Regions from separate parts of the Homo sapiens genome. Here all the other regions are linked to region 3. The links are contacts of gene promoters, found by promoter capture Hi-C in human tissues and cell types (Jung and others, 2019). All regions are on one chromosome and are shown on one strand. The core of a region is centred on a gene start or on the middle of the fragment in contact, and the rest is flanking DNA. Distances in the headings are between cores, read along the strand shown. Region 1 overlaps SPPL3 (signal peptide peptidase like 3). Region 2 has its middle 30 kb from the start of XLOC_009911. Region 3 holds the start of POP5 (POP5 ribonuclease P/MRP subunit).

Evidence for each region. Contacts are between HindIII fragments. The study calls those that stand out against the background at their distance.
Region 1: a contact is called between a fragment that was not itself captured here and the fragment with the promoter of POP5 in region 3, in 1 of the 25 tissues and cell types used here (neural progenitor cells).
Region 2: a fragment that was not itself captured here is called in contact with the fragment with the promoter of POP5 in region 3 in 2 of the 25 tissues and cell types used here (mesenchymal stem cells and pancreas).

Annotation. Positions count from the first base shown.
Region 1 is chr12:120,860,666-120,864,017 of GRCh38, reverse strand. All of the region lies in intron 1 of SPPL3 (signal peptide peptidase like 3), which reads left to right. Among named protein-coding and RNA genes, the nearest start is that of SPPL3, 42 kb to the left of the region's middle. The HindIII fragment of the contact is 8,740 bases long and covers 1-3,352 here.
Region 2 is chr12:120,932,749-120,936,094 of GRCh38, reverse strand. No RefSeq gene overlaps it. Among named protein-coding and RNA genes, the nearest start is that of XLOC_009911, 30 kb to the right of the region's middle. The HindIII fragment of the contact is 5,842 bases long and covers 1-3,346 here.
Region 3 is chr12:120,579,836-120,583,433 of GRCh38, reverse strand. POP5 (POP5 ribonuclease P/MRP subunit) reads left to right here and starts at 2,032. Exons shown (of 5, transcript NM_015918.4): 1 at 2,032-2,091; 2 at 2,177-2,319; 3 at 3,511-3,598. The coding sequence starts at 2,072. The HindIII fragment of the contact is 9,700 bases long and covers 1-3,598 here.

The DNA of each region.
Region 1 (3,352 bases), core at 79-2,578, 280 kb before region 3:
GATTTTACATTGGAGCTAACCTTTAGGAAACTACCATCTAGGCTGGGTGTGGTAGCTCATGCCCGGGATCTCAGCACCTTGGGAGGCCAAGGTGGGAGGATTGCTGGAGGCCAGGATTTCAAAACCAGCCTGGGCAGCAAGCAAGGCTCCATCTCTGCAAGAAAAAAAGAAAAGAAAAGAAAAAGAAAGCTACAAGAAAAAAAAAAAAAAAAGCTAAATGTGGTGACTTGACCCTGTGGGCCTAGCTACTTGGGAGGTTGAGGCAGGAGGATAGCTTCAGCCCAGGAGTTCGAGGCTACAGTCAGCTGTGATCACTCCAGCCTGAGCAATAAAACGAGAATACATTTCAAAAAGAATTAAAAAACCTACCATCTGTAGAATTTCATTTCAGTATTGAAGAATAATATCTACGATTACCTGAAAGGCTCTTAAAATACCACTCACATTTTAAACTATAGATATGCATGCAGTTGAATTTTCTTCATGTACTTGAACCAAACTATATATCATAGTACAGATTAAATGCCGAAGCAGATACGAGAATACTGCTGACTTCGATTAAGCCAGACATTAAAGATATTTGCAGAAATGTAAAACGGTACCATTCCTCTCACTAATTTTTACTTTCAAAAGAGTTATTTTTCATTAAAACTTTTTTTTTTTTTCTTTTGAGATGGAGTCTCGCTCTGTCACCCAGGCTGGGGTGCAGTGGTGTGATCTCAGCTCACTGCAACCTCTGCCTCCTGGGTTCAAGTGATTCTTCTGGCTTAGCCTCTGGAGTAGCCGGGATTATAGGCATGCACCACCACACCCAGCTAATTTTTGTATTTTTAGTAAAGATAGGGTTTCACCATGTTGGCCAGGCTGGTCTCAAACTCCTGACCTCAGGTGATCCACCCACCTCAGCCTCCCAGAGTGCTGGGATTACAGGTGTGTGCCACCATGCCTGGCCTAGATGTTGTGATAAATATATATTTGGTCTTTATCCCAGGTTCCTGGCATAATAGCTTTTATAATAAAGCCCTTAGAATTTCGTGATAGAGGAGAGAGGAGCATCTTTTGTTATTCATGAGAAGTCCCTTTCAACCCTACCTGAGTTTATGCTAATGAGCTGAGTCTTAGTGGGCTCCTAAATAGCTTCTGGATGATGACTGGTTGCTAGAAGAACCAATAGAGGGTTGGAAATATAACCCCTTCCCTCAACCTCTGCAGAGGGGAGAGGGGTTGGAGATTGAGCCCAGCCAGGAAAGGCCAGTGATTTAATCAATCATGCCTGTGTAATGGAACCTCCAAAAAATCCTTAAAAATTGAGTTCTGAGAGCTTCTGGACTTGTGAACTGGTGCTGGGAGGACAGTGCACCCACCGAAGGCATGGAAACTTTGCATACTCCTCTCAGCCCTCCATTCCTTGCCCTGTGCATGTCTTTTATTTTTCTGCTCCTGAGTTGTATCCTTTATAATAAACCAACAATAGTAAGTAAATTGTTTTCCTGAGTTCAGTGAGCCATCCTAGCAAATGGTCAAACCTGAGAAAGGGATTGTGGAAACCCCTAACTTTGTAGCTGATGAGTCAGAAGTACGGGTGACCTGGACTTGATACCGGCACCTGAAATAGAGGCAATCTCATGAGACCTAGCCCTTAACATGCAGGGCCTGTGACACCTTTGGGTAATAGTGTCAGAATTGAATTGATGAACATCTAATTATTATTGGAAAATTGGTTATTGACATGGAAAAAACCCACACATTTGGTGTCAGAAGTGTTAAGAGTAGAAACAGATCATAGAAATATGTGTAATTTATGTTAATGTATAATGAGTTTATTTTAAAATGAATAAATATTTTTCATATTCACAGTTTCAATGTCTAATATGGTAAATATCAGGAAGTATAATCTATATAAACAAATGCCCTTTGGGGTCCTCAACAAGAGTCCTGAACTAAAAAGTTTGAAAACTACTTCTCTGGACACTGTGGACATTATTTTCTGTAGTACTGCCTACATTGTAATTCATGTTCACTTATTTACTATTGTTTTGGAATCTTAATACCTTCAAGTATGTTGCTCAAAATTCTAGAATTGAAGACATGAAGATGTTGAGCACTACAGCCCAAAGTGATATTCCCAATCCTTTGAGTTCCCAGTCCCTCTCTTACCCCTAACTCCCTCACAGCCCTTCTGTTCTCTCCTTTTGGTATCTCAGAAATCTTGGGTATCAGAAATCATTTCATAATACAAGTAACAAGGAATAAGATAACCTGTTAGAAGATTGGATTGGTTTTTATATGTTACAATTTCAGGCATATGATTTTTAAATCTGCCAGAGAGGTGATTGTATACTGAGTAATATCAGTCAGCGTACTCCCCTGCCAGATAAACCAGGACTCAGTCCGCTGCTAGGATGCGTTTCAATGAAGACATCTGACCTGTGTGGTATGTCTTCAGGGCATTGTAGTTGACAGTAGTAATGCAAGGATCTACCACAGCCTGTTTAAAATATGACCAGAAATGTGGCTGCTGGAGTAGCTAGATGAAATATAGACCACACTGATAAAAAAAAATCTTACTCTTTTTCCCTTCCTGTTATTTATTGCCAACACCCTTTTCAAGGATCTGTCCTTTTGGAGAATTTTTGTACTTTGTCTCCTTCCTTTTTCTGTTTTTCTAGCATGTTCTCATTTAAGAATAAGCAAACTATGGCCTGCAAGCCAAATCTGACCTACAACCTGTTTTTGTAAATAAAGCTTTATTGTAACACAGCCATGCCCATTTGTTTACATATCATCTATGGCTGCTTTCATGCTAGAATGGCAGAGTTGATTTGAGAACAGTTGGCCCTGTCTCTGTGGGTTCCACATTCATGATTTAGTCAACCTCAGATAAAAAATATTTGAGGGAGAAAAAACAAAAGTAATACAAATGAAAACAATATGGTAAAACAGGTATTTATATAGCGTTTTCATTGTACTATGTATTGTAAGTAATATAGCGATGATTTAAAGTATATGAGAGTCCTGTGGAGCCCTGAAATGGGAGGAGGAAAAAAGTATACAGGTGGATGTGTGTAGGTTGTATGTAAATACTACACTGTTTTATAAGGGACTGGAGCATCCAAGGATTTTAGTATCTAGAAGGGGAGTAGGGGGTTGTCCTGGAACCAGTCCCCCAAAGATAGGGAGGACTGTAGTTGTCACAGAGACCATATTACTTACAGTGCCTAAAATATTTACTCTTTTACATAAAAAGTTTGCCGCCTTCTACTTCTCTTACTATTTCTAGCAAAGTACCAGACTAATTTCTCCTTCCTCTCTCCCTCCAATTTGTCACGAACAAACTTTTGTGCGTGTGTAT
Region 2 (3,346 bases), core at 119-2,618, 350 kb before region 3:
CCATCCACCGAGGGAACAGAATGTGGCCTATCTGTACAATAGAATCATTCTGACCATAACAAGCAATGCAGCTGGGCACAGTGGCTCATGCCTGTAATCCCAGCACTTTGGGAGGCCAATGTGGGTGGATCACTTGAGGCCAGGAGTTCAAGATCAGCCTGGCCAACCTGGTAAAATCTCATCTCTACTAAAAATACAAACATTAGCCGGGTGTGGTGGCACAGGCCTGTAATCCCAGCTACTCGGGAGGCTGAAGCATGAGAATTGCTTAAGCCTAGGAGGCGGAGGTTGCAGTGAGCTGAGATCGTGCCACTGCACTCCAGCCTGGGCAACAGAGCAAGAGTCTGTCTCAAAAAAAAAAAAAAAAAAAAAAAAAAAAAAGAGGAATGCAGTACTGACACACTGCAACATGGATGAACCTTGAAAACATTCTGCAGAGTGAAAGAAGCCAGACACAGAAGACTGTAAATCGTATGATTCCATTTATATGCAATGTCCAGAATAGGCATCTCCATAGAGATAGAAATTAGATTAGATGTTGACAAGGGCTTGAGGTTGGGGGTGGTGAGAGAATGGGGAATGACGGTGAATGGGTGTGGGGTTTCTTTGGGGAAGATAAAAATGGTTTGGAAGTAGATTATGAAAGTGGTTGGGCAAGTTGATAGCTACACTAAAAACCACTGAATTGCACACTTTAAAAGGGTGAATTTTATAGTTTGTGAACTATATCTCAATCAAAAAAGGAGGAGGAGAAGGAAGAAGAAAAGAAGAAGAGGCTGGGCACGGTGGCTCATGCCTGTAATCCTGGCACTTTGGGAGGCTGAGGCAGGCAGATCACTTGAGACCAAGAGTTCAAGACCAGCCTGGCCAACATAGTGAAACCCCATCTCTACTAAAAATATAAAAATGAGCCAGCTGTAGTGGTGCACACTTGTAATCCCAGCTACTTGGGAGGCTGAGGCAGAAGAATCACTTGAACCTGAGAAGCGGAGGTTGCAGTGAGCCGAGATCACACCACCGCACTCCAGCCTGAACAGAGCGAGACTTTGTCTCATAAATAAGTAAACAAATGAATAAATGTGAGTAACATCCTATATTAGTTTCCTACTGCTGCTGTAGAAATTACCACAAATATTGACTTTACACAAGCTTATTCTCATAGTTGCGGAGGTCATGAATCTGACATCGGTTTTATAGGGCTAGTTCCCTGTGAGGGCTCTGAGGGAAGAATGTGTCCTTGCCTTTTTCATCTTCTAGAGGACCACCTGCATTCCTTGGCTCACATTCCCTTCATCGATCACTACAACCTCTTGTTTCCATCGTCAAATCTGCTACCGCTCACTCTGGTGTGCCCACCTCTTCCAAGGACCTGTGTGATTATATTGGGCTAGATAATCCAGGATAATCTCCTCATCTCAAAAATATTAATTTGATGCATCTACAAAGTCTCCTTTCCTATAATCATAGGTTCTAGAGTTCTAGAGATTAGGACATGGACATCTTTTTTTTTTTTTTGAGACAGAGTTTTGCTCTTGTTGCGCAGGCTGGAGTGCAATGGCGCGATCTTGGCTCAACGCAACCTCCACCTCACGGGTTCAAGAAATTCTCCTGCCTCAGCTTCCTGAGTAGCTGGGATTACAGGCATGTGCCACCACGGCCAGCTGATTTTGTATTTTTAGTAGAGAGGGGGTTTCTCCATGTTGGTCAGGCTGGTCTTGAACTCCCAACCTCAGGTGATCCCGCCACCTTGGCTTCCCAAAGTGCTGGGATTACAGGTGTGAGCCTGCTCCCGGCAGGACCTGGACATCTTTTAGGGGTTATTATTCAGCCTACCACACACTTACCAGATTTAAAATTCTATGATGTACACTTACCTACAGTATCTCATTTAGATACTTATGAGGTGTTATCATTCCTATTTAATGAATGAGAACGCAGGTCTAGAAAGCTTCATTGCTTAGCCACAGTCATATAGTCAAAGAACTAGAAACTCAAACCGGAGTATATGGCCCTAGAGACCATGTAACAGCACTACACACCACTTCTCCTCCACCAGGCTGCCTGTAAATCACGGGCCTTTGGCCTCTCATTTTCTTGTACAACTCAAAAAAAAAAAAAAAGAAGAGGAAGAAGAAGAGGAAGAGGAGGAGGAGGAGGAGGAGTAGGCGGTGGCAGCGCCATGGCTCAAGCCTGTAATCCCAGCACTTTGGGAGGCCAAGGCAGGAGGATTGCTTGACCCCAGGGGTTTGAGACCAGCCTGGGCAACATGACGAGACTTTGTCTCTACTAAAAACAAAAACAAAAAAAACTTGGCTGGATGCAGTGGCACATGCCTGTAGTTCAACTAGTTGGGAGGCTGAGGCAAGAGGATTGCTTGAGCTCAGAAATTCAAGGCTGCAGTGAGCTATGATTGTACCACATCACTGCACTCCAGCCTGGGTGACAGAGCAAGACCCTGTCTCTCTGACAGAGGAGAGAGAGAGAAAGAGAGAGAGAGAAGGAATGAATTGACCTAAGAAGGAAAATGGCTGAATTCGGGATATATTTTGGATGTGGGTTACTTAGGGGACACAGTGGGGCAGGAATTGGTCCTATGTGAGTCCCTGCATCCCTCAAGTGTGCCACTGGAAGAAAAGCAGAAGGAGCAGCAAGTATGGAGCCCATGTCAGGGTGTCACCAGCTCCCCAGTGTGAGCCACTCACAGAACGCAAAGGCCATGCAGTGCTGGGATTCAGAAAGTATCAGATTTCAAGGCCTGTGTGTCCTTGGGTGAGTAGCTTGGCCTCTCTGGGCCTCTGGATGGACTGGGGGCAGCGAGTCTATAAAGCCCTGAGCTGCCTTTCCTGCATTCTCAGCACATTATTGGAACCTGAGTGCATCGTGACAGCCCGGTGTGCTGACAGCTGGCAGAGTCCACACGCCTCTTCTACGCGTGGCTTCAGTGTCCTCTCATAAACCTGACCCTGCCCGGTCAACCCCAGCTCTAAAAAGAACTGTCCAGCCCTAAGTTAGGACAGCATTTTCTCCTCTGTGACTTCACTTCCGTTGCACCCTTTTTTTTTTTTTTTTTTTGAGACAATCTTGCTCTGTTGCCTAGGCTGGAGTGCAGTGGCATGATCTCTGCTCACTGCAATCTCCACTTCCCAGGTTAAAGCAATTCTTATGCCTCAGCCTCCCGAGTAGTTTGGACTACAGCTGCATGCTGCCACCACGCCCGGCTAATTTTTTTTTTTTTTTTTTTTTTGAGGTGGAGTTTCGCTCTTGTTGCCCAGGCTGGAGTGCAATGGCACCACCTCGGCTCACCGAAAGCTCTGCCTCCTGGGTTCAAGCGATTCTCCTGCCTCAG
Region 3 (3,598 bases), core at 783-3,282:
ATCCCTCCTTTAAGGTGGCCAAGAAGAGTGGGAGATGGGAAAATTCAGAACTCATTCCAGATCTTGCAAAAATAGGTTGTGAAAGCTGCCCCCATTACGGACCTCACAGGACCAGCCAAGGCCAAGACACTTCTACAAATAATCAGGGATGGGCATAAAGACTAAGCTACAAAGCCATGCATCAAAGTATTGGGTATAACAAGAAAATCTAGAAATAATGTAAACGTCTACCAAAGGGATACTGACCAACTTCACAATGGTACGTCCAAACAATGCAATACTGCACAGCTAAAAAACAGTATTGTCGCTGAAGAGCTGACATGAAAATATAGCCAAATGGCCAGGCGTGGTAGCTCACGCCTGTAATCCCAGCACTTTGGGAGGCCGAGGTGGGTGGATCACCTGAGGTCAGGAGTTCAAGACCAGCCTGGCCAACATGGGGAAACCCTGTCCCTACTAAAAATACAAAAATTAGCCAGTTGTGGTGGCACACACCTGTAGTCCCAGCTACTTGGGAGGCTGAGGCAGGAGAATCGCCTGAATCCAGGAGGCAGAGGTTGCAGTGAGCTGAGATCGTGCTCCAGCTTGGGCAACAGAGTGAGACTCCGTCTCAAAAAACTAAATAAATAAATACAAAAATTAGCTGGTCGTGGTGGCAGGTGCCTGTAATCCCAGCTACTCGGGAGGCTGAGGCAGGAGAATCGCTTGAACTCAGGAGGCAGAGGTTGCAGCCAGCCTCCTGGCTGCATTTATATAAAGTTTAAGAACAGGCAAAATTAATCTAGCAGGGTAGAAGTGGTAATAGTGGCTGATAGCAGTAAGCAATTTGACTGGAAGAGGGCTCAGGGAACCTTCTGGGATACTGGAAATGCTCTTTATTTTAATCTTGGAGGTGGTTATAGAAGTCTATCCATATGTAAAAATTCATTGAGATGAATACACTTAAGAATATGTACTTTATGTAATACCCCATAAGACATTTTTTTTAAAATACTTAAAAATAAAAGAAAAAACATAATTTAACAGAGGGCATAGTTCTCAAGCTGTTTTCTCTGTCTCAGGACCCCTTTACACACGTTACTGAGGGTGCCCAAGAGCTTTTAGTTTTGTGGGTTATATTTACTATGGACATTAAAGTTGAGAAACGTTTAAAAAACAATACACAATTCCTAGAGCAGTGACGTCATCACGTCAAGCAGCCTCTGGAAAACTTGACTGTTCACTCAGAGAGAATGAAAAAGACAAGTAACATCTTAGCATTATTATGAAAGTAATTTTGACTTCGGGGACTCCCAAATCGAGTGAATTTAGGAAATCTCAGTGGTCCCCAGACGGCACTTTGAGAACCACTGGCGCAGGGAGAAAATGACAGAAGAAAACACACTACACGACAACAGTTATTCTCTCTCAGTGCTGGGATTATAATTTATTTGCTTCTTTGTGCTTTTCTGTCAAAAAAAAAAGGTAAACGGAAATGGAAAATACAATGACCACGTATTGTTTCTGCGAGCAAAAAACGAGACGGCACACTCGCCTCCCTAAGATTGCTGAAAGGCCCAAACAGCAATAGCATATTTAGCTGTATGGAAGAATTAAACTGAGCTCAAACCTGAAAATAAAAGTCCGATTTCCCGTTTGTCAATGCCTGGGCTGTGAGGTGCAGGGTCTTGCCCTCAAAAGCTCCACCGTTCACCTTGGGGAGAGAATATACTCGCATACATAACTGTGGTGCAAGGTTCCCAGGGCCCCAAGGGTAGCGGCTACATCCTACACACTATTGTAAACTTCAGTGTGCAACAGAACCATCCATTACAGCTGCAAGGCGCTCCATCCCGGGGTTCAGCCCTCAAACTAGTCAGTGACCCTCCGCAGGACGCATGCGCGCTTACAAACGCAGTTGGGCGGGGCTTGAGAGAGCTGACAGACTTCGGCCTCTCAACTTTCTAGCTCCGCCCTAATATCCTGTCTCCTTCTCTGAATGGCTGAAAGGCTGCGGAAGCAAGCTTCCCATTGGCAGCGGACAGAATTCACATCCGGTTTGCACGCCGGACCGGAGAGCGCGGAGGCAGCCATGGTGCGGTTCAAGCACAGGTAAGCATTCCCTTCCAGACCCTCCCAGTGCCTTGCTGGGTCCTCGCGGCCCCGCTAGTGTCCACCTTCCTCTCGCCTGCCGCAGGTACCTGCTCTGCGAACTGGTGTCTGACGACCCCCGCTGCCGCCTAAGCCTCGATGACCGAGTTCTGAGCAGCCTCGTACGGGACACGATCGCCAGGGTGCACGGAACTTTCGGCGCAGCCGCCTGCTCCATCGGCTTCGCGGGTGCAAGGGCGCTGGGGGAAGAGGGGAACCCGGGAGGATGGCGGGATGTGGAGGGGGCAGGCGCCGGAGGAAGAAAGAAGGGGCACGAGTGGCCAAGCCCGTGCACCGTTTTTTGTAAGGTATCTCTTTAAGCGCCTGGGACCCCAAGCGAGAGTCCGAAATTAGCAGAGCGCTAAAAGGAGGGGCCCGAAGGCAGTGGGGCTTTGAGCTAGAAGCCTCTTTTTACCTGCTTGACAGGTAATTTCTGTAATTGGTTGTGATTGAATTTGATAGGGTAGAGAATTAAATGAGGGAAGCTGTGTATACTTCCTAGTAAGAGCTATTATATGACCGATTACATTAACATCATATGGAAAAAAATTGTCAAAAGTACTCCGGGAAAGCCCTTAAATAGTTGGTAAAGTACAGAACACATGATTGTCAATATATGTAAATACAGGATGAGCTAGGACAGAGGGGCCCTTCTTTCACACCACTTAAATTAGTTCCCACTTTAACCTTGTTTGAGATTGACTTCTGGAGAGTTAAATGCAGATAGACTTAACTCTCCTAAGTCAGGTGAGACTGAGAGCTGACTGCTACAATAATTACGGAGCCCAAATGCAGTAAAACAGCCTGTTTTTCAGGCAAGGGTTTTGTGGGGGTTTTTCCTAAATTAAAACGGATCGCCTCCTACCTGCTCCTATTTATTGAATTAACTAGTGAATTAGAAAGCATTTTCAATTCTAAATTCATTCACCAGTTCTGAGTGGTGTGCAACACAGTGGGTGTTTTGGCTTTTCTCTTTTACTCGCTGATAGATCTACGTGCCACTTGCCTACAACATACTTTTGGCACATAGTAGGCTCTGTTACTCCAAAGTTTTCCTTTTTTCGAGACAGTCTGGCTGTTGCCCAGGCTGCTGGAGTGCAGCAGCGAGATCGGGGGTCATTGCTGCCTCTGCCTCCTGGGTTCAGGCGATTCTCATGCCTCAGCCTCCTGAGTGGCTGGAATTACAGGTGCGCACCACCACACCCAGCTAATTTTTGTATTTTTAGTAGAGACGGGGTTTCATCATGTTGGCCAGGCTGGCCTCGAACTCCTGACTTAAAGTGATCTGCCCGCCTCAGCCTCCCAAAGTGCTGGGATTACAGGCGTGAGCCACCACACAGAGCAAAAGTTTTCCAAAATGATTTTTCTTTCCTGTTGTAGTTCGATATCTCAATGCCTATACTGGAATAGTGCTACTTCGATGCAGAAAAGAATTCTATCAGCTTGTGTGGTCAGCTCTTCCCTTCAT